4 separate regions of the Homo sapiens genome follow, and all the other regions are linked to region 4. Evidence: promoter capture Hi-C in 16 types of primary human blood cells and fetal thymus (Javierre and others, 2016). All regions are on one chromosome and are shown on one strand. The core of a region is centred on a gene start or on the middle of the fragment in contact, and the rest is flanking DNA. Distances in the headings are between cores, read along the strand shown. Region 1 has its middle 52 kb from the start of KCNH2. Region 2 has its middle 43 kb from the start of AOC1. Region 3 overlaps LOC105375567 (a long non-coding RNA gene). Region 4 holds the start of RARRES2 (retinoic acid receptor responder 2).

Region 1 (5,208 bases), core at 1,508-4,007, 580 kb before region 4:
GCTGTTGTCACTAATTCTAATTCAGAACTGCAGAGTTTTAATTTAACCTCATGGATCTTACATCTTTATCCCCTTTTCCCCACACTGAAAATCCTGACTCTTCATGGCACCAACATCATTACTCATTGGCTTTATCTCACAACAAACACACATGCAATAGTCTCAGAGCAGTAATACCAACCACCACAACTAACACTATGGTGACTGGAAATCTCTTTGTGATATTTTTGAAGTTCTTTTTGTCCTTAATATATCCCACTAGGGACGTATAGTGAAATTACTGTGTTTAAGTCGGTTGGAATAATTCCTTCTTGCATGGTTATGTTCCGTAATTATGGTTCATTTGTGTAATTTCCCTTTTCATTTTTAGGACTTGCATTTTAAGTTTAATTCTAAAGTTGAATCTACAAAGCAAAGTATATTCAAAGAAGTCTCATTTCTATGCCTGTCTACTCCCCTCCTCTCCCATAGATAACTGTTAAGGTATTTGTGTTTGTCCTTTCAACATTTTTTAAAATAAGCAAGTGTATGTATGTATGCCTCTAGTTTCCCTACTTGTGTTTTTTAGATGAATGAAATGTCCATACGTACTTTTTTCTTCCTTGCTTGATCCACTTAGTATCTGGAGAGGAGTCCACATCAGTAAGAAGAGACACGCCTCATTCCCTCACAGCTGTGTAGTATGTCATCATTTGGATATAGCTGACTCAAACGGTCCCCTGGTGGTTGCCATTTGTTTCCAGTCCTTTGTTGTTATTACAAAATTCTGCTACAATACATAGTCTTGTGCATACATCCTTTCATATTTTTGCTACTATATCTTTGGGAGGAATTCCAAGATTTGCTGGGTCAAAGGTCAATGCATATGTAATTTTGTAAGATATTGCTAAAGTTCCCACCAGCAACGTGGGAATACTTCTTTCTTTAACCTCGCCAACAGACTATGCTGTCACACTTTTGGATCTTTGCCCAATTTGATAGATGAGAAATGGTATCTGTGTCTTTTTAATTTATATATTTCCATCACAGGTTGAATTCCCTGGGAGCAGACTCTGAGACAGAGACTGGAAGGAGGGAGAAGAGGGAGGACTGGGTAGAGGGACAAGTCCGCCTGTGACTCAACCTCAACAGAGAGCCCAGCTGAGCCCACAGTGACCTCTAGGGCTGGCAGGGCCCTTCAGAGAGGCTGCGTAGGAATGATGGGCCTGGCTGTTCTATCCCCGTGTTAATCCATCACTGAGTGTGGGCTGCTCCGGAAGGAGGTGTGACCTTTGGTGAGGCAGTTTTTTTCCTGCCAAGGCAAATCCATGGGAGGGCGGACAGCAGAGGGCCATCCTCTGGTGGCACTTTCCATCATAGGTAGGGATTATGACATTTATTTCAGAAAGACAATCTGGGTGACACATCACGGCATCCACCCTCATTGCTTAATTTACCTATAATATCTACTTTAATGATTTTGTTTTCTACATACTATCTATCTATCTATCATCTATCTAATCTATCTATGTATCTATCATCTATCAATTATCTACCTATCATCTATCAATCACCTTTCTATCTCTGTTATCTATGTATCTATGTATCTATCTATCTATCTTATATCTATCAATCATCCATCATCTATCAATTTTCTTTGTATCTATCAATCAATCATCCATCTATCTCTCTCATCTCTCTCTTCTATCTATCTATCTATCTATCTATCTATCTATCTATCTATCTATCTATCTATCATCTATCTATCTCTATCATCTATTTATCTATTTATCTAGTTGATTTGTCTTGGATTGAGACAGGTGTGTTAAATATTCTTATTTTTTTTTAAAACAACATGTTTCTGTATATTTCTCCTGTCATCTCTTATATTTTCTGCTTCATGACAGTTGTTGCTAAGCCACTGCCATATAAGTGGCACCTACTGTTAGATCTCCATCATGATTGCAGACTTTGGGATTCTGTAGCCTCCTTCTGTGTCTCATTTAATGCTCTCTGGTCTGAATCCTGCCTTGTTGGATATCAAGATGGTGACTCATAATTTCTTTTAATTTTTATTTGCCTGTTGTATCTTTCAATTATACTGAACATTTTGATAAGCTTTTATTTTTAAACTTTTGCAATCTCTTTGTATTAGTATTGCCTCTGATATATAGTATAATATTGGATTTTTCCTTTTTTGCCAATATGGATACCTTTTTCTTCTAACAGCTGAGTTAAGCCCCATTATATTGATTGATCTGATCTATGTGTTTGACCCCAGTTGTCACATTGTTTTATTATACATATCATTGTATGCACATATCTATGTCTATATCGATATATCAATGTGATCAATTTTTTTAGCTTTCTTTTGGTATTTAGAAGGTTTGAATTTTTGTTCTAATAAATACCTTTATTCTAATACCTTTATATGACACTTTTAGCTTCCTAGTTGTGGTTATTTTGTATTAGTTCCCTACTTCAAGCAAGATTAAAATTGGTTAGTAATATCTTCTCCCTCCCTTGTCTGCTCCAGCATATATTCTGAAGCGATACTCTTTGAATTTCTGTTTCTACCTATAAGGCAACCAGCAAGCTTGTTTTACTTTTTATCTACTTTCCCCACTCTCTCCCCTGTTTTCTTTTTCTCAAGGGATGCGGTCTCTCTCTGTCATCCAGGCTGGAGTGCAGTCGTGTGATCAGAACTCACTGTGGCCTCGAATTCTTGGGTTTATGTGATCCTCCTGCCTCAGCCTCCCGAGTAGCTGGGGACACAGGTGCCACCACCATGCTGGGCTCCCTCCTGGATTTTTGACTGTTGTAATCTATCTACAGTGTCAGAACACAGCCCTCACCTTCTACATGACCGCCCTTATAATTATCGTTTCATCTTGGCACTGAACTTACAGCCAGTCCTTGTATGAACGGCTTTCCAGTCATTTGTGTTGTTTGAAGCTTGTTCTTTAGTGGATTCTTCAGTAAAAGTGCATGAGAGTGACACTCCCTGAGTTCTCCAACATTTGCAGACATAACTAAGATCTGTCAATAGCCTTTCCACTTAAAGGTTGTCTTGGCTCACATTGTCTTTCCTTGAGTACTTAAAATATTTTACTTCACTGTCTTCTGGCATAAAGCATGGCCATTGAAAAATCTAAATGCAACCTAATCTTTCCTCCACTTCCTTCCATAAGTAACTTGGTCTGTTAAACTGGACATCCAAAGATTTTTTTCTTTTCAAAGTGTGTAGTCCCACAAGCATATGTCCCTGTTGGTGATCCTGTGACGACTTTCCTATTGTACAATATGCTTCCATATCCATTACAGTATGCAGTTTTAAGTATCTTTATTTCAGGAAAATTCTAAATTTAGTTTTCCATATTATTCTGTTCTGTGGCTTTTGTTTTCTTCTTGGGGATTTTTATTATATGAATACTTCATCTTCTTAGTCCACCTCCTGTTACTTTCTCTTGTATTCTTTTCATTGCCTTGTTCATACCTTTTAACTAAAACTTTTTTCTTTTTTCATCCTTTATTTCATTTAAGACATTATCCACTGTGTCTATTTGCACCGACAGTTCTTCTAACTTAGACTTCATTTCTAAAATAATTTTTATTTCACATCTGAGTCTCTTCTGTCTTTTCATACTATTGTTTTATTTCCTTATTTTGGATCTTTTCTACTTCTGACTCATGCTGGTCTTCATAGCATCCATCACTTTGTGTATTTTTGTTCATTTTGAACTATGAAGGGCCAGTGTTGGTTTGTGCTTTGGCCAAGTCATTCTGGTTGGTGAGCCTTCATTGTCTGCAGGATAGTATTTGGCTCCTCATCGCTTTTTTCTCAAATTAACTTAGAATGATATTTATGTGAAATTATTTCCCACTGCTCATGCTTAAGTAAAATGAATTTTCTGTACTTTTAGGGAAGAAGGTTGGGCTAGGATAACTTTTTTTGGACTTTATGACTCTAGAGTCTGATTTCTGTTCTTTCACTCGGGGTTAGAAGATACGAACCCCACATTCTGAGCACTCTCTCTCCTTTGATCTCCTCCTCACTTTAAACTGGGCCTTGTCTTCTCTTTGTCCCCATTGACCCCAACCCAATCAATTCACATTCTTTTCTCAGCAGTTTTTCCCCAGTGCAAGATTTGGACTCAGAAGGCAGCTGTGGTGTGTCAGTGTGCTGAATTCCCAGGGTCCAGGTCACTCCAGCACAGTTCCATCTTACTGAGGTCCCCTTGTTCTCACCTCTGACTCGGCACCTACACACCCCTTGCCCGGTGCTGGCAGCTGCGCTCCGACAGGCCTGCAGGGAGTCCCTGGACACGCACCAGACGGGCTGTGCTGTTATGATCCCCGGGCCCAGCAGAGGCCCAGCTGTTTTTCCTGCTCTTCCTCTTTCCTACACAACTGTTTACATCACGCTGCTCTTGAAGCTATCAGCAGTTTGCCCGGACACATTCATAATTTGGGTTTGTGAGTTTGTGGGGACACCTTGTCACCCAGATTTGTTGTAGATATTCTCCATAGATCTACAACAGGAAACGTTTTCAGGAAGGGTTTTGGTTTTGCTATTCTGGTTCTGTTCTCTTTTATGTGGTGATTTGGGGACATATATACATATATATATATTTTCTTCTTTTTCTTTTTAGAGACAGGGTCTCACTCTGTTGCCCAGGCTGGAGTGCAGTGGTGCCATCGTAGCTCACTGCAGCCTCAAACTCCTGGGCTCTGACAATCCTCCTGCTTCAGCCTCCAGAGTAGCTGGGACTATAGGTGTGAGCCACCAGGCCCAGCATTGATTTGAGGATATTAAACAAACAAGCAATTGTGGGCCATTAATATCCATATCTGGTCCTGTTTATTAATTGAAATTATTAAGAAATTTTAAGTGTAATATATACCTGGTGACGTTAATGAAATGCTAGTTAACTACTGTATCCTATGTGCTGGAAATGTCCTATTTAGGGCAATGTGTCCAAAGGGCACAGACTGAATAAACATAATAAAGATTTCAGGGTTGAATTAAGTTTTCTAGGGCTGCTATAACAAAATGCCACAAACCTGGTAGTTTTAAATGGCAGAAACAGACTTTCTGGCAGTTCTGGAAGACAGGAGTTGAAAGTGTTGGCAGGCTATGCTCCCTCTGAAGGGTCCAGGGAGGAGTCTTCTTGCCTCTCTCAGCTTCTGGTGGTTGCCAGCAATTCTTGGCATCTTGATGACATCTGC
Region 2 (4,927 bases), core at 1,681-4,180, 550 kb before region 4:
TAACCTGGCAGCAGCCTGGAAAAATTGGTTTGCGGTGGTTTGAGCAGTGGGCAAAGTGGGTTTATGTGGGCGAGCTTATTAACACTTCCTTTTGCTGACTGCGGGTACAAGCTTGAAATGGCCAACAGTGCAGCAAATAGAGACCAAGTTGCAAAAATGAGTCTTCATCTCACTGAAGTTTGAGAAATTGCAGAGGCTCGTGGAGAGACTCCTGGTGCCAGGACACGCAGGTCTCCACCCAATCTGGCCACTCTGTGTGTGACCCGGGGCCCGTCCTCTGTCTCCAGGCTCCCCTTGCTACATGAGGTGGCCGGAACACTGCCTGGGTTTTGAGGCCAAGGGTTTGTAGGTGTTGGTGAAGAGAAGGGGCCCCCAGGCTAGGTGAGGGGACCTCAGTTACCTCCCCCTTTCCCAATCATCCTTTTCTGAGGCCACCTTCAATTGCTACCCTATCCTAAAAGGCCTCGAAAAGCAACAGGCTCTGGTGTCCCGACATCTTCTGGTTTCCTCTTCTTTCTGTGAAACAACTGAGTCTCAGCTTTTCTCATTTGCATCCCCACCTGGCAGCTGAAGAGCCGCAAACAAAATAACACCTGCTTTACATGAAGGGGAAGTGACTTGGGGCTGGAGTGAGAGGTGGGCCCGGGTCATAAGTCCTTGTTTGTTTTCTTCTTTCCTTACACTGCTTGGTGGGTTCTTCGTGGTCCTCCGCAAAGAGGGTTTGGGAATGGCGGGTGTCTCTCTCACTCGGAGCCAGCCCCTGTCTCTCTTCTGCACTGTTCCTGAGCCTGGGGTGGGTGTCTGGAGCGAATGGACTGGATTCCTCCCCAGCCCCAGGGTCTCTGTCTCTGGTGAGGGGCAGGTGGCTGTGTGTTGAACAAGCCTCTCCCTCCTCTGATCCACAACCAAACACATACAGGGATGTCCCGGGTAACTCTGGGAGTGTCCCTGTCTCTGGCCCTGCATTCTGGGGTCTGTGAACTGCAAATTGCTAGATGGAGGGATCTGCCTACCCCAAAGGGGAATTTCCAGGGAGAGGGATCTGTCCACCCCAAGGGGTGTGGCCAGGGATCCTCCTCCAGGAGATGAACCCCACAGACATGACTTTGGGTCCAAGCACCATCAATGCCATTTCCTGGGGCTGCATGGCTGGGAACCAGTTTGCCGACCAGTCGGAGCTAGATAGGGAGGGGGCAGGGCCGAAGTGGAGGTCTCCCCCTTTCCTTTCACTGCCTTTCTACATGCGGTGCTGGTCCTGGATCTGTTGTCCTGAGACTCTACACTTGTCCTCTCCCTCCTCTGCCATGTCTTGTGGGGACAGACCCCTGCAAGTGGTATCTCCCACACTTCCAGGTTCCACCCATGGGAGGCCTGAGCATGAGACAGAGGGGGCTGGACCTTCTCTCCCTTTCTCTCCAGCTGCGACAGACAGGCCCCCAGGGCTCCCAGCTTCCACTGGTGACCCGGCTGCAGGGTCTGGGAACTCCACGCCCTCCCTCTGCCCCTGCCTCTCTGGGCATTGCTGTCTCTGGAGTACCCACCCTGTTTATCTCTTAGTTCACCCATCCTCCCAGCTTCCAGTTCCCTGAAGTCCAGTGTCTCCGTGCTAAGTCTCCCAGCAGTCCCTGATTCCCAACCCGTGTGTCTTGCTGGATCTTCCTTCCCCACCTTAATCAGGCTGGCGCAGATCCCACCATAGTTTTTTGATTGTGTTTGTGTGTGAAACAGGTCTGTCAAGTTCAACCAACATCTGACATCCAGTTCAGTTTTGCCTCTCCTCCCAGCTCTGCTGGACCCCAGGTCCAAGGCTCCTACCCTGGGGAGGGGCAGGTCTGGCCGTCCCCTCCTCTCTTCCTCTCCCACACCTGCTGATGCTCCTGGGGCCAGGATGGAGGGGAGGGGGCTTGGAGGAAAAGTGGCCCCACTGGCGTGGCCATTTTTGCTTACATGGACCCTTGGGCTCTGGGTGGCTGATATGCAACACTGGCTCTTCTGCTGGATGCAGGTGTGTGTTCTTCCGAGCATCATGGACCTGGACCTGCACAGTGCCCTGATGACCTGTCCCCTGCTGTCCACCCCACAGCCTCTAACTGCATAGTTCTCCTCGTCTGCCTGGCTGCCCTCTTAGAAGGGGGTGTTACTGGATTCCTGTGGCCACCACCACAAGGTGCATAAACTGGGTGACTCAAAACAACAGAAATGTATTCTTTCATGGTTCTGGAGGCCAGAAGGTCAAAATCAAGGTGTTGGTAGGGCCACGCTCCTTCTGCAACCTCTAGGGGAGCATGCTTCCTTATCCATCTGGCTTCTGGTAGCCCCAGGTGTTTCATGGTTTGTGAAAGCATCACTGCAATCTCTGCCTCTGTCTGCATATGGGCTTCTTCTTTGAGTGTGTATGTGTCTCTCTGTGTCTTCTCTTCTTCTTATAAGGACACTGGCCATTGGATTAGGGTCCACGCTACTCTAGCGTGACCTCGTCTTAACTGATCACATCTGCAAAGACCTGTTTCCAAATAAGGTCACAGTGATAGGTACCAAGGGTTAGAACTTCAATATATCTTTTTGGAGGACACAGTTCAACCCACAACAGGTGCAGACACACCTTGGAAATATTGTGGGTTCACTTTCAGACCCCGCAATAAAGCAAATATTGCAATAAAGTGAGTTATAAAAATCCACTGGTTTTCCAGTGCATATAAAAGTTATGTTTATATTATACTGTGGCCTATTAAGTGTTCAATAGCATTATGTCAAAAATACAATGTACATACTTTAAATTAAAAAAATCTTTATTGCAAAAAAATGCTAACAATCATCTGAGCGTTCAGTGAGTCATCATCTTTTTCCTGGTGGAGGGTTCTGCCTTGGTGTTGGTGGCTGCTGACTGATCAGGGTGGTGGTTCCTGAAGGCTGGGGTGGCTGTGGCAATTTCTTAAAACAAGAAAACAATGAATTTTGCCACATCAATGGACTGTCCTTTCATAATATATTGCCTTGTAGCATGCAATGCTGTTTGGTAGCATTTTACCCAAGGTAGAACTTCTTTCAAAATTGGAGTCAATTCTCTCAAACCCTGCTGCTGCTTTATCAACCAAGTTTATGTCATATTCTAATTTTTTTGTTGTCGTTTCAACAATGTTTACAGCGTCTTTACCAGGAGTATATTCCATCTAAGGAAACAGGCAGGATGTGGTGGCTCATGTCTGTAATCCCAGCCTGGAATCATCCCAGGCCTAGGTGGAAGGATCACTTGAGGCCAGGACTTTGAGACCAGCCTGGGCGACATAGTGAGACCCTGCCTATATATAAAAAAAAAAAAGAAAGAAAAAGAACCAGGCATGGTAGCATTCACTTGTTCTAGCTATTTTGGAGGCTGAGGTGGGAGGATTACTTGAGGAGCTTGAGGCTGCAGTGATTCATGATTACATCACTGCACTCCAGCCTGGGCAACAGAGCAAGACTCTGTCTCAAAAAAGAAAATAAAAAAGAAAGAAGAAACTGTTTTCTTTGCTCATTCATAAGAAGCAACACCTCATCCATTCAAGGTTTTTTTTTGTTTGTTTTGTTTTGAGATGGAGTCTCGCTTTGTTGCCCAGGCTGGAGGGCAGTGGCACAATTTCAGTTCACTGCAACCTCTGCCTCCTGGGTTCAAGTGATCTCCTGTCTCAGCCTCCTGAGTAGCTGGGACTACCGGCACATGTCACCATGCCCTGCTAATTTTTGTATTTTTGTAGAGAAGGGGTTTCACCATGTTGGCTAGGCTGGTCTTGAACTACTGACCTCTGATGATCCGCTCACCTCGGCCTCCCAAAGTTCTGGGATTACAGGCTTGAGCCACTGCGCCTGGCTGCCAGTCATGTTTAGTCATGAGATTGCAGCAACTCAGTCACCTCTTCAGGCTCCCCTTTTAATTCTACTTCTCTTGCTATTCCCACCACATCTGCAGTGAGTTCCTCCATTGAAGTCTTGAACCCTTCAAAATCATTCAGGAGGGTTGGAATCAATTTCTTCCAAACTTCTGTTAATGTTGCTATTTTGACCTCTTCCCATTAATTACAAATGTTCTTAATGGCATCTAGAATGGTGAATCCTTTCAGGAAGGTTTTCAATTTACTTAGCCCAGATCCATCAGAGGAATCACTATCTACGACAGCTAGAGCCTTACAAAATGTATTTCCTAAATAATAAGACTTGAAAGTTGAAATTGCTCCTTGATCCATGGGCTGCAGAATGGATGTTGTATTAGTGGGCATGAAAACAACATTAACTCCTTGCATGTCTCCATCAGAGCTCTTGGGTGATTAGGTGCATTGTCAATGGGCAGTGATATTTTGAAAAGAACAGTTTTTTTCTGAGCAGTAGGTCTCAACAGTGGCCTTAAAATATTCAGTAAACCATTCTGTAAACAGATATACTGTCATCCAGGCTTTGTTGTTTCATTTATAGAGCACAGGTAGAGTAGATATAGCGTTACTCTTAAAGGCTCCAGAATTTTCAGAATGGTAAATGAGCATTGACTTCAACTTAAAATCACCAGCTGCATCAGCTCCTAACAAGAGAGTCAGCCTGTCCTTTGAGGCTTTGAAGCCGGGCATTGACTATGAATGTCTCTAGTTATGAAAGTCCTCGATGGCATCTTCTTCCAACAGAAGGCTGTCTTATTTACTTTGAGAATTTGTTGTTTATGTAGCCACCTTCATCATTGATCTTGGCTAGGTCTTCTGGATAACTTGCTGCAGCTTCTCTTTGCACTTTGATGTTATGAAGATACCTTCTTTCCTTAAACCTCATGAGCCAATCTCTGCTGGGTTCAGACTTTTCTTCTGTAGCTTCCTCAACTCTCAGCCTTCATAGAATTGAAGAGAGTTCGAGCCTTGCTCTGGATTAGACATTGGCTCAAGGGAATGTCGTGGCTGGTTTGATCTTG
Region 3 (4,988 bases), core at 1,329-3,828, 530 kb before region 4:
CCTTCCTCAGGCCATCTTAGTTCTGGCCTCTTTTCCTTTTCTTTCCCAGGTGTTAGCTCCACAATAAATCTAACTCCATTTCAGCATCTCAGTGTCTGCTTCCTTGAGAACCCAACAAGTACAGCATGTTTCTTGGTACTTCATGGTGTACATTCAGTCCATTTGACTCATCCATTCCTCCAAGGATGGATACTGAATTTGCCTCCAACTCCCACTGCCATGACAAATGCTATGACGAACATCCTTGTTCTCATCCCTTCATAGTCCTGGGGGAGAATTTCTTTCAATTAGGTATAATTTGTAGTGGGCTTTCTGAGTCATAGGATGTATGTATGTTCAATTTCACCAAGTACATGCAGGCTATGTTACAGAGAGGCTTCATCAGTCCACATTTCCAAAGGCACAAAACCCACCTTAGACCCATGTTTGTGTTTCTGAAAGCCCTGCTTATATTTGGCACTAGATAATTTTCTAATTTTGATAATCTCTTGATATATTTGTTATTAATTTGTTTTTTCTATGAATTACTTGCTTCTATACTTTGCCATTTATAGAATGGGTTTCTGACTTTTACTTACAGATTTGCAGAAGTTTCCTATATATTCTAATTATGAATTCTTTGTCAGTTTGAGATGTTGAAAGTATCTTCTCCCTCTCAACTTTGACTATGGATTCCTTTGTTGAATAGAAACCTGTAATATTAATGAAATCAAATCTACATATTTTTTTACCTTGTGGTTTATGATTTTTAGGTCTTGTTTAAGAAAATTTCCACCTTTAGGTCACAAATATTTTCCTACATTTTTAGTTTCACTGTTTATGTATAGATTCTTACTCTTGCTGAAGTTCATTGTATATTATATCAGGTAAGGATGCAGTTTTATTTTTCTCCATATTATGGGAGCTTTTCCCCACTATAACCTACTAAACAGTCAGTTTTTTCCTGTTTCTTCGTAATTCCCTTATATTCATGAGTCTCTGAGCTCTTTTTGGTTCTGTTGGTCTGTTGGTCTACTCTTGAGCCAATACCATGATTAAAAAAATTTCCATGGCTTTATAGTGTAACTTAATATTTGATGGGACCAGTCTCACTTCTTTGTCCTTCTTTCTGAAAAATGATTTCACCATTTGTGAACCCATTTTTCATATGTTTTAGAATAAATTCATTAACCCCTAAAAAATTCTGGTTGGGATTTTGATTGGGATTGGAATTATAAAAAACATTTGAGGAGGATGGATATCTTTACAATGTTAAGCCATACTATCAAAGAGCACGGTTTTTTTATTTATTTATTCATATATTTCATTACATTATGGTCTCAGAACATGGTCTGTATGCTTTCAATTCTTTAGAATTTGAGACTTCTTTTAAAATCATTATTTGGTCAGTTTATGTGAATGTTATATGTACACAATATACACATGCATTCTTTGGTTTGTGGAGGGTTATATACAAATATGAGTTTATTAAATGTCTTATTTAGATAATCTATGTCTTTGCTTTTTTTGTCTACTTGATCTATCAGTTCTGAGATTTATGTACTAAAATCAGCAATGTTGTTGGTTTTCTTCTTCTTGCTTGAGATTATGTTGTTAGATGCATATATGTTATGCATGTTGTATCTTCTTTGTCTATTGTTTCTTTCATCAAGATATACTATACCTCTTTCAAGCTGATACAGAAGTAGAGAGAAGGATATAATGAACCCTCTCAAATCCATCATCCAGCTTCAACTACTCATGGCTACTCTTATTTTATCCATACTACACAAACTCTTCCACACCCCTTCTACTGGATTATTTTGAGGTAATGGCAAACATAATATCATTTAAAAAGTAAATACACTAGCATCTATCTATAAAAGATAAGGAATTCTTTTTAAGCATAATCATAATACCCTATCAAACCTAAAGAATTAACAATAATTTCTTAATACCATCAAATATCCAGTGTTCTAATTTTCCAATTGTCTTATAAATATTTCTATTCTCTTTACTTAAATTAGGATCCTAATGAGATTCATACCTTAGAATTAGCTGATATGCTTCTTGAGTTTCTTTTCATCTATAGATATAACATATCTCTATCTCTTTTGATATTTCCTGGCTATGAATTCTATTTTGTTATATATTAGGATGGCTACATTTTTGTAATTAAATTTTTTAAAGATTACAAAAACAATATATGAGTAAATGTTCATAAAACATTAAAACACATATGGAAGTGTGTTTTTTGTTTATATAAATAGAATTCTACAATGTTTATTATTCTGTGACTTGCCTTTATCACTTAACAGCAAATACTGAAACATATCCTTTTTAAAATATCACAGCTTTATTGATATACAATTCACATACTATACAATTTATAGATTTATTAAATCTATTGTCACAACCAATTTTAGAATGTTTTCATTACCTCTAAAAGAAACTCTATATCCAATTCTCCCCAATCCTCCCAGACCATGGCAACCACTAATCTACTTTCTGCCTCTATGGATTTGTATATTATGAACACTTCAAATAAGTAGAATCATATACTACATGGTCTTTTGCATTTGTCTTCTTTCATTTAGCTAATGTTTTCAAGGTACATCCATGTTGTAGCATGTATCAATATTTCATTTTTCCTTATTGCAGAATGATATTCCATTGTATGGATATATGACATTTTGTTTATTTAATCATCAGTTATTGGATATTTGTTTTGTTTCAACTTTTTGACTATTATAAATAATGCTGCTATAAACATTCATGTACAACTTTTTGTATGGACACATTTTCATATTTCTTGGACACATACCTGGGGTGAAATTTCTGTATTCTATAGTAGTCTGTCTAACCTTTTGAAGAACTGCCAGACTGTTTTCCAAAGTAGCTGCACTATTTTATATTCCCACCAGCAATGTATGAAGTTTATAATTTCACCACATCCTCACCAACACTTGTTGTTATCTGTCTTTCTGATTACAGCCATCCTGGTGGGGATGAAGTGGTATCCCATTGTGGTTTTGATTTGCATTTCCCTTATGACTAATGATGTTGAGCAACTTTTCATGTGATATTGGTTACTATGTATCTTCCTTGGAGAAATGTCTGTTCAGATCCTTTGCCCATTTTTAAATTGGGTTACCCATATCAGATATATGATTTGCAAGTATTTTCTCCCATTCTGTGGGTTGTCTTTTCATTTTCTTAATGATATCCTTTGAAGCACAAAGGTTTCTACATTTTGATGAAGTTTATTTTATCATTTTTTTCTTTTGTTGCTTGGGCATTTGATGTTATATCTCAGAAATCATTGCCTAAAATTGGCAAGGTCGTGAAGATTTATGCTTACATTTTATTCTAAGAGTTTTAGCTGTTACATTTAGGTCTTTGATTCATTTTGAGATAATTTTTATATATGATAAATACTAGGGTTCCGGTTTCATTCTTTTACATGTGTATATCCAGTTGTCCCAGCACTGTTTGTTGAAAGTCTATTTTGCTATTGAATTGTTTTGGTAATCTCATCAAAAGTCAACTCTATATGTGAGGTTTTATTTAATTAATGTATTTATTCTGAGACAGGGTCTCACTCTGTCACCCAGGCTGCAGTGCAGTGGTGTGATCATGGCTCCACTGCAGCCTTGAACTTCTGGGCTCAAGCCATTCTCTGCCTCAGCCTCCCAAGCAGTTGAGACTATAGGTGTGCACAACCATGCCTGGCTAATTAAAAAAAACCTTTTTATTTTTTTTTTTGAAGCGACAAGTTCTCTTTATTTTGATCAGGTTGATCTCAAACTCCTGGGCTAAGCGATCTTCCTGCTTCAGCTTCCTAAAGTGTTGGGAGGCCAAGTTGGGAGGCCAGGTTCCTAGGAGAATGGGCCCTGCAGCACACACAAGTGCATGATCATTCTGCCAGTCCCTGCCTTTCTAGGCCTGGGAAGCTGGGGACTGGAATGCTGTTGCCACTCCTTGACCTCGCCTGCAAACACAGCAGCATCAAGGGCAGAAAGGCAGTTTCAGTATCCCTTTCATCTTCCAGATCTTGCTCAAATGCTCCTGATTGGTAGAAACTAATTCTATACAGAGCTTTAGATATAAAACAATCTGGGAAATGGAGAGTTTAACTTTCTAGTTGCTGCAGAACAGGAAGATACATTAGGAGGGAAATATAATAGAGGTTAAGGAAGTGTCCATCATATTTCCCATGAGTCCAGTGACTTGGGAAATGGCTGTTCTCAGTCCTGGTGAGACTGTCTAGAATTCTGTGTCCATTTCTTTCCCTGAAATGTAGAGATATAGAAAAGATTTGTATTGTGAGCTAAATTGTGACCCCCTCAAAAGATATATTTGAGTCCTAATCCCCAGTTCCCATGAACGTAACCTTATTTGGAATTAGAGTCTTGCAGATGTAATTGAGTTAAAATGAGGTCCTACTGGAGTAGGGTGGGCCCTAAACCCAATGACTAGTGTCCTTATAAAAGGAGAAATGCAAAGACACAGAGACACCCAGGCAAGCCAGCCATGTGAAGAGGGAGACAGAGATCTGAGTGATTCCTGAGCTATCCTTTAAACCATCACCTGTATCTGTATTGCCTCTCAATGTACAGCCAGGCCAGCAGCTACAGGGAACTCAGAATATTCAGGCTGTGCTCTCAGTTCCCCCCTACCTCCTACTTATTTCCATACTTCCTTTCTTGGGGACAAGTTTCCATCTCAGCAGGGGCTCAGTGAAGGCTGTGGTGATATTGGGATGCTGGGTTAGGATCATGGCTGGGGCAAAGACCTTTTTTTGATACAAGGTCTCACTCTGTTGCTCAGGCTGGAGTGCAGTAGTACAATCACGGCTCACTGTAACCTCTGCCTCCCGGGCTCAAGCAATCCTCCCACCTCAGCCTCCCAAGTAGCTGGGACTACATGCATGCACCACCAACGCAGCTAATTTTTGTATTTTTTGTAGAGACTGGGTCTTGTCATGTTGCCTAGGCTGGTCTCAAACT
Region 4 (5,113 bases), core at 1,761-4,260:
ACCTTGGACTCCCAAAGTGCTAGGATTACAGGCATGAGTCACTACTCTCAACCCAAATATTCAATAATTAAAAATAAAAAAGTCAGTGTTTTCTCACCAATACCACACTACATATAAATGGGCTAAATTTGAATATCCAAGGAGATGAAACCTCATTTGTGACCTAGCCAGATAAATATAAGCATTTCAAATTAAATATTTTCATAATACTGACAAATAATTACAATCTACATACTTTTGTCACAAGAATCAACATACAGAGGTTTTAATTGTAATATACAGCATTGTGTAAATTGGCAAAATTTCAAGAAAAATGTGAAGAATTCTTAGTTGATATTGATAAATTTAGAATGGCTTTTGAATTTATGCAATATCATTTTTGAATTTATGCTAATGGTACCGAATTGACACAAGTTGGAAAATGTACTTAACTTCAATAGGTGTAGTTTTGCAACTGATATGCTCTTACTTCAAAGTCAAATCACTTCTTCTAAAAAAAACTATTTTTGTCAATGTGGTTGCAAATATTAAAGGACAATGTTTTTTGGTACTCAGTTCAGTTATTGGAAAACTAAGCTTGGAACAACTGGATACGTGAGTCTACTTTTTTAGCTGTCATGACCAGGAAGATCATTAACCATCATTAAATAGTGAAGTCCTGTTGTTGCTCCCCTGGACTGGGACATGTTACCTGGAGCTGAGCTCATGAATATGCCCTAAGTAGTCCTTTCACACATCCACACCTATGAGTGCTCTGCAGTAGGACTGTCCACCTCTTTGGGGTGCACCTCACATACCTACACCCAAAGTGAATTTTGTGTGGCCATTTAAGTATAGCCAGACTGGCTCCTTCCTCACCAACTCCCACCACCCTGCTCCCAACCTACCTCCCCACCTCAACTGCCTCACCTCCCCTGCAACAGACCTGATGCAACTTTCCCCCCAGCCCCCACCAAAGTCAGGATGAGTTTCCCGCTTTGCTCAGCTCAAGTCCTACCTTGTCCTGGAAGATTTCTCTCCTCACCCATCCTCAGGACGTCCCCCAGCATGGGTCTGTGGGGGCCAAAGGAAAACTTCCCCTTTGCCTTCTGAAGGTTTGCTGAAAAATCAACTGATGAAAGGCAGATTAATAGAATAAATTGATTCATTTATATTTTAGAGACAAGGTCTTGCTCTGTCCAGAGAGGCTGAAGTACAGTTTCATGATCAGAGCTCACTGCACCTTTGAACTCCTGGGCTCAAGCAATCCTCCTGCCTCGGCTTTAACAGGAAATATTTATTAACATACATGAGAGAGAACCACAAAGTGATTACCCCAACCCCTCAGTGGGATACAGAAGCTTATCCACCATCTTGAGTTTATACAAATATGGGGGCTCAGATAGTGGCAAGACAGGTTATGGAAGGGAGGGAAGAGGAGGCCTGGTTGGCAAAGGGAGTCTTGTTAGGTAGATGACACCTCACAGGTAGCAGCCCTCAGAAAGAACTGAGGGTAAATGTTTCTTTCAGATCTGTAAAGGTGTCAGCCTCTCAGTTAATCTTTCCTAGAGTTAGACAAGGGAGAGCCTCGGAGAAAGCCTGGCTACATCAATGCAGATTTCCTCTACAGATGCAAATCTCTCCACAAAAAGACAGCTTTTTGGTTATTCTATTTCCAACCATTCTGAACAGCCACCTTGAAATGTGTCAAAGAAGTATTTTTTGGGGTGAAATATTTTGGTTTCCTTCAAGTTCTTGGGCTGGGAAACATCTTTGGGTGCATCTTTTCTCTCTAACCCCATCTAAAGCTTTCAGGGAACACGGATCCCATCTCTTTCTGCTTAAGGGCGGCTGAGTAGCTCACAGCTGGGGAGTGAAGTACCCTAAGTAGTGGTGGGATTTCAGACACCTGGAAGTGGTTAATGGAAGCCGAGTTTCTTTCTGGTGCCCCCAGAGCACACTGTAAAGGAAATTCTCAGCTCTAAGTGGAGAATCCTGGTTAGGGGTGCGTAAGTAGGGGACAAAAGCCTTGTGCTCGGCACTGGACATCAGTTGCTTTTCATGTTTCTTCATTTAATCCTCAAAACAACTCCTTAAGACAGAGTTTCTGATCCCCATCTTACAGATAAAGAAACAGAAGTTCAGAGAGAGCCATGAAGTTACATGAGATCCTCTACTTCAGGTGATCCCTGCGGTGTGGGAACCAGAGGCATGGTGTTGGTGGTTACTGACGTGCAAAGTCTCAGAGCTTCTTCATCCTTGCTCCAGCGTACCCAGGAGTCGAGCCGGTATTTGGACAGTTTTCCTTGAGTTTCTGCTCACCTTATGAATTCCATCATGCCGTTCTGCCACACCCGAAGGCTCCCCCACTCCCCATGAGAATCTATCCCACGGAGAATGGGGCACGAGGAATGGTCAGGAAAGGCAGATGCAGGATACACACTGGACATCTTTGCTGTCGATCAAGGTTGCAGGCGCCAGAGTCCTCCCTAAAGGAGAGACCTTCCTTCTCAGTGTGGCTCAGGGAGTGGGAGGCAGGATCAGGTGTAGGGACCTCGAGGTCTCATTTGGTTTGAGAATGTCTGTATTTAGGGGAAGAAATCCCAGGATGAGTGTCTCAGGGACGCTGGGGAATGGTCCCCCGTAAAGGACCCAAGACAGGGCAGCCCTGCCTGGGTAGGAGTGGGGCACAGAAAGTCCTTGGGGGAGCAGAGCAGCGGAGAAGAGGCCCGGGCCGGCCGAGGCTGCGGAATGCTCAGGCCCGAGCCAGAGGGAGGTGGGACCGAGGGCTGCGCGCCTGGGCGAGCCGCCTGCAGCCGCGGCCAGGGTCAGGGTCATGAGGGCTGGATCGAGGGGAAGGAGGGGGGTGGGATGGGGAGGGAGGGCGCGGGAGGGCATCCCGCCCCAGAGGCCGGTCCCACTGGGGAGGGGAGGAGCCAGAGTTGCTGGAGGGGGTCCAGGAGGTGGGGGTGGGAGGAGGTGGGGGCCGCCCCGCGAGAAGAAGAGCGGGAAGAGGCGGACAGCGAGGCCAAGATTTCAGCTGCGGGACGGTCAGGGGAGACCTCCAGGCGCAGGGAAGGACGTGAGGAGGGGAAGCGGGCTGGGGCGGCAGCCGGGCGGAGGGGCAGCTGCGCAGGCGGAATGAGGAACGCCTTTGCTCTAAGGCGACCACCCTGGCAGCTCTTCACTGAGGGGCCTCGGTTTCCACATCTGTCGCTCTCCGGTCCCAAGACCACCAGGACCGACGGGGCTCTCCGGGAGGGTCAGCCCCTCCGGTGGCCCCAGTCATGCATCAGGGGACGGATCAGAAGGGCTAGGAAGAGGGGTCGTGGGGAAGGCCCCAGAAAAAAGAGGAAGGAGGGAAGATTTTGCCTGAAGCGGGAAAGCCAAGGGCTGGGCGGCGCGAGACCCCCATTCCTAGCGACTGGGGCTGGCTGGTGGCCCGCGGCAGCCCCCGCGCCGGGAGGATTAGGCCTCCCGCCGCTCCCACCCGTCCGGACCCTCCCACGTGTTTAGGTCCTCCCAAAAGTATTCGGCCTCCGGCCCCTGCCCCTTCCCCCGGCTGGCCTGGACCTCGGGGACGTGGGGGGAACCCCGTGGGAGCAGGGGGATTCTGGACGGGGAGGGAGTAGCGGTTGGGGAGAAGGCTGAGCGGGGAAAGGAGAGAGGGGCTCCGGGGACGGCAGGGAGGAGAGTGGGTCGTGCCGGAGACCCAGGGAGAGACACAATGGGCAAGATTAGGGGTGTAGGGTGGGAGTGCGAACTGACTGATTCCTAGCGTGGGCAGGGAACTTTGCTAAAACTGCAGGCCCCAGGGAACAGCGCGGGCAGGGTGGGAGGGAACGGAGAGGGCCAGGCGGACCCTAAGGTCAATTTGGAGAAAGGGCCATTTCCAGGCTCCTTCACCTGTGCCCAGCGTTCTACAGGCCTGGACCCCGCCCCCGCTCCCCACCCTCCCCCCAGAGCAGGGCGCGGGAGGAGGCGGCTCGGGCTGGCTCGGAGAGCTGAGGGGCGCACACCCGCTTCGCAGGGCCAGGGTGACACGGAAGCATGCGACGGCTGCTGATCCCTCTGGCCCTGTGGCTGGGTGCGGTGGGCGTGGGCGTCGCCGAGCTCACGGAAGCCCAGCGCCGGGGCCTGCAGGTGGCCCTGGAGGAATTTCACAAGCACCCGCCCGTGCAGTGGGCCTTCCAGGAGACCAGTGTGGAGAGCGCCGTGGACACGGTGAGTAGCATGGCCCGGGCAGGAGCGGGGAGGGTCGTACCCCAGGAGACCAGCGCATTCCCACGAAGGGGGACAGAAGTGCTTGGGCTCTGAGCCCCAGCCCTTTGGAGAAAAGGCCACTGTCCAGCCTGCTGGAATGTGACTGCGTGAGGGAGGTGCGGATCACACCAGGGCTTGCTCTGCACCCTCAGCTGGCTACCGGCCATCCTCTGCCTGCCTGTCTGTCCGCAGCCCTTCCCAGCTGGAATATTTGTGAGGCTGGAATTTAAGCTGCAGCAGACAAGCTGCCGGAAGAGGGACTGGAAGAAACCCGAGTGCAAAGTCAGGCCCAATGGGGTGAGTGAAGGGGTGTGAGAGCAATGGGCGCATGCTGGGTGTGAGTGCATGGACTTGGGGTTTGGGGTGTGGGGCACATGCCTGGGTGTGCATGCATGAATTGGGAGGTCCATTAAGAAGCCCTGAGGTTAGAGACCCCACTGCGAAGAGCCTCCTTAGAGGTGGAGTGGCTCAGCCTGAGCCCAAGGTTGTGAGAGTGGCTGGTGGGAGCTGGGGCCTGGCAGACAGGAAGATGGTTTGGTTACCCCTGGACTTATCTTCATCAGAGCAGGGCTCACCTCGGTCTGAGTTCCTCTCTCAAGCATCAGGGCCTGGGTGGAAGGAGCCGGCTGTGTGGGTGTGTCTGGTGCCCCCCTAGCCTAGCAGGACTCCAGTCATCAGTCACGGTGGGGGCAAACCTTCCACCGTGGGGGTGATGCCTGGGCTGGGAGTGCAGTGACTGTGTTCTAGTTCCCGCTCTGTGAGCACGGCCTGGGCTCTGTATTACAGGTTCTGCAAAGGCCCCAGTTCCCTCTGTCGGCTCAAGGAGGGCACTGGACTATAGCAATGATTCATCAACCTCAAAATCAAATCT

Evidence for each region. The method cuts DNA at HindIII sites, captures the fragments that hold promoters and counts their contacts. A CHiCAGO score of 5 or more calls a contact.
Region 1: a fragment that was not itself captured here is called in contact with the fragment with the promoter of RARRES2 in region 4 in 1 of 17 cell types (total CD4 T cells); the score reaches 5.2 in total CD4 T cells.
Region 2: a contact is called between a fragment that was not itself captured here and the fragment with the promoter of RARRES2 in region 4, in 2 of 17 cell types (total CD4 T cells and activated CD4 T cells). The highest score is 6.1, in total CD4 T cells.
Region 3: a contact is called between a fragment that was not itself captured here and the fragment with the promoter of RARRES2 in region 4, in 2 of 17 cell types (total CD4 T cells and non-activated CD4 T cells). The highest score is 5.6, in total CD4 T cells.

Annotation. Positions count from the first base shown.
Region 1 is chr7:150,923,747-150,928,954 of GRCh38, reverse strand. No RefSeq gene overlaps it. Among named protein-coding and RNA genes, the nearest start is that of KCNH2, 52 kb to the left of the region's middle. The HindIII fragment of the contact is 359 bases long and covers 2,578-2,936 here.
Region 2 is chr7:150,893,333-150,898,259 of GRCh38, reverse strand. No RefSeq gene overlaps it. Among named protein-coding and RNA genes, the nearest start is that of AOC1, 43 kb to the right of the region's middle. The HindIII fragment of the contact is 5,633 bases long and covers 114-4,927 here.
Region 3 is chr7:150,869,794-150,874,781 of GRCh38, reverse strand. The region is part of intron 1 of LOC105375567 (a long non-coding RNA gene); the gene reads left to right. Among named protein-coding and RNA genes, the nearest start is that of AOC1, 20 kb to the right of the region's middle. The HindIII fragment of the contact is 8,356 bases long and covers 1-4,988 here.
Region 4 is chr7:150,339,526-150,344,638 of GRCh38, reverse strand. RARRES2 (retinoic acid receptor responder 2) reads left to right here and starts at 3,010. Exons shown (of 6, transcript NM_002889.4): 1 at 3,010-3,061; 2 at 4,010-4,203; 3 at 4,435-4,539. The coding sequence starts at 4,030. LOC107986858 (a long non-coding RNA gene) reads right to left here and starts at 2,794. Exons shown (of 3, transcript XR_001745420.3): 1 at 2,302-2,794; 2 at 998-1,111. RefSeq lists a silencer at 3,902-3,971. The HindIII fragment of the contact is 3,952 bases long and covers 1,790-5,113 here.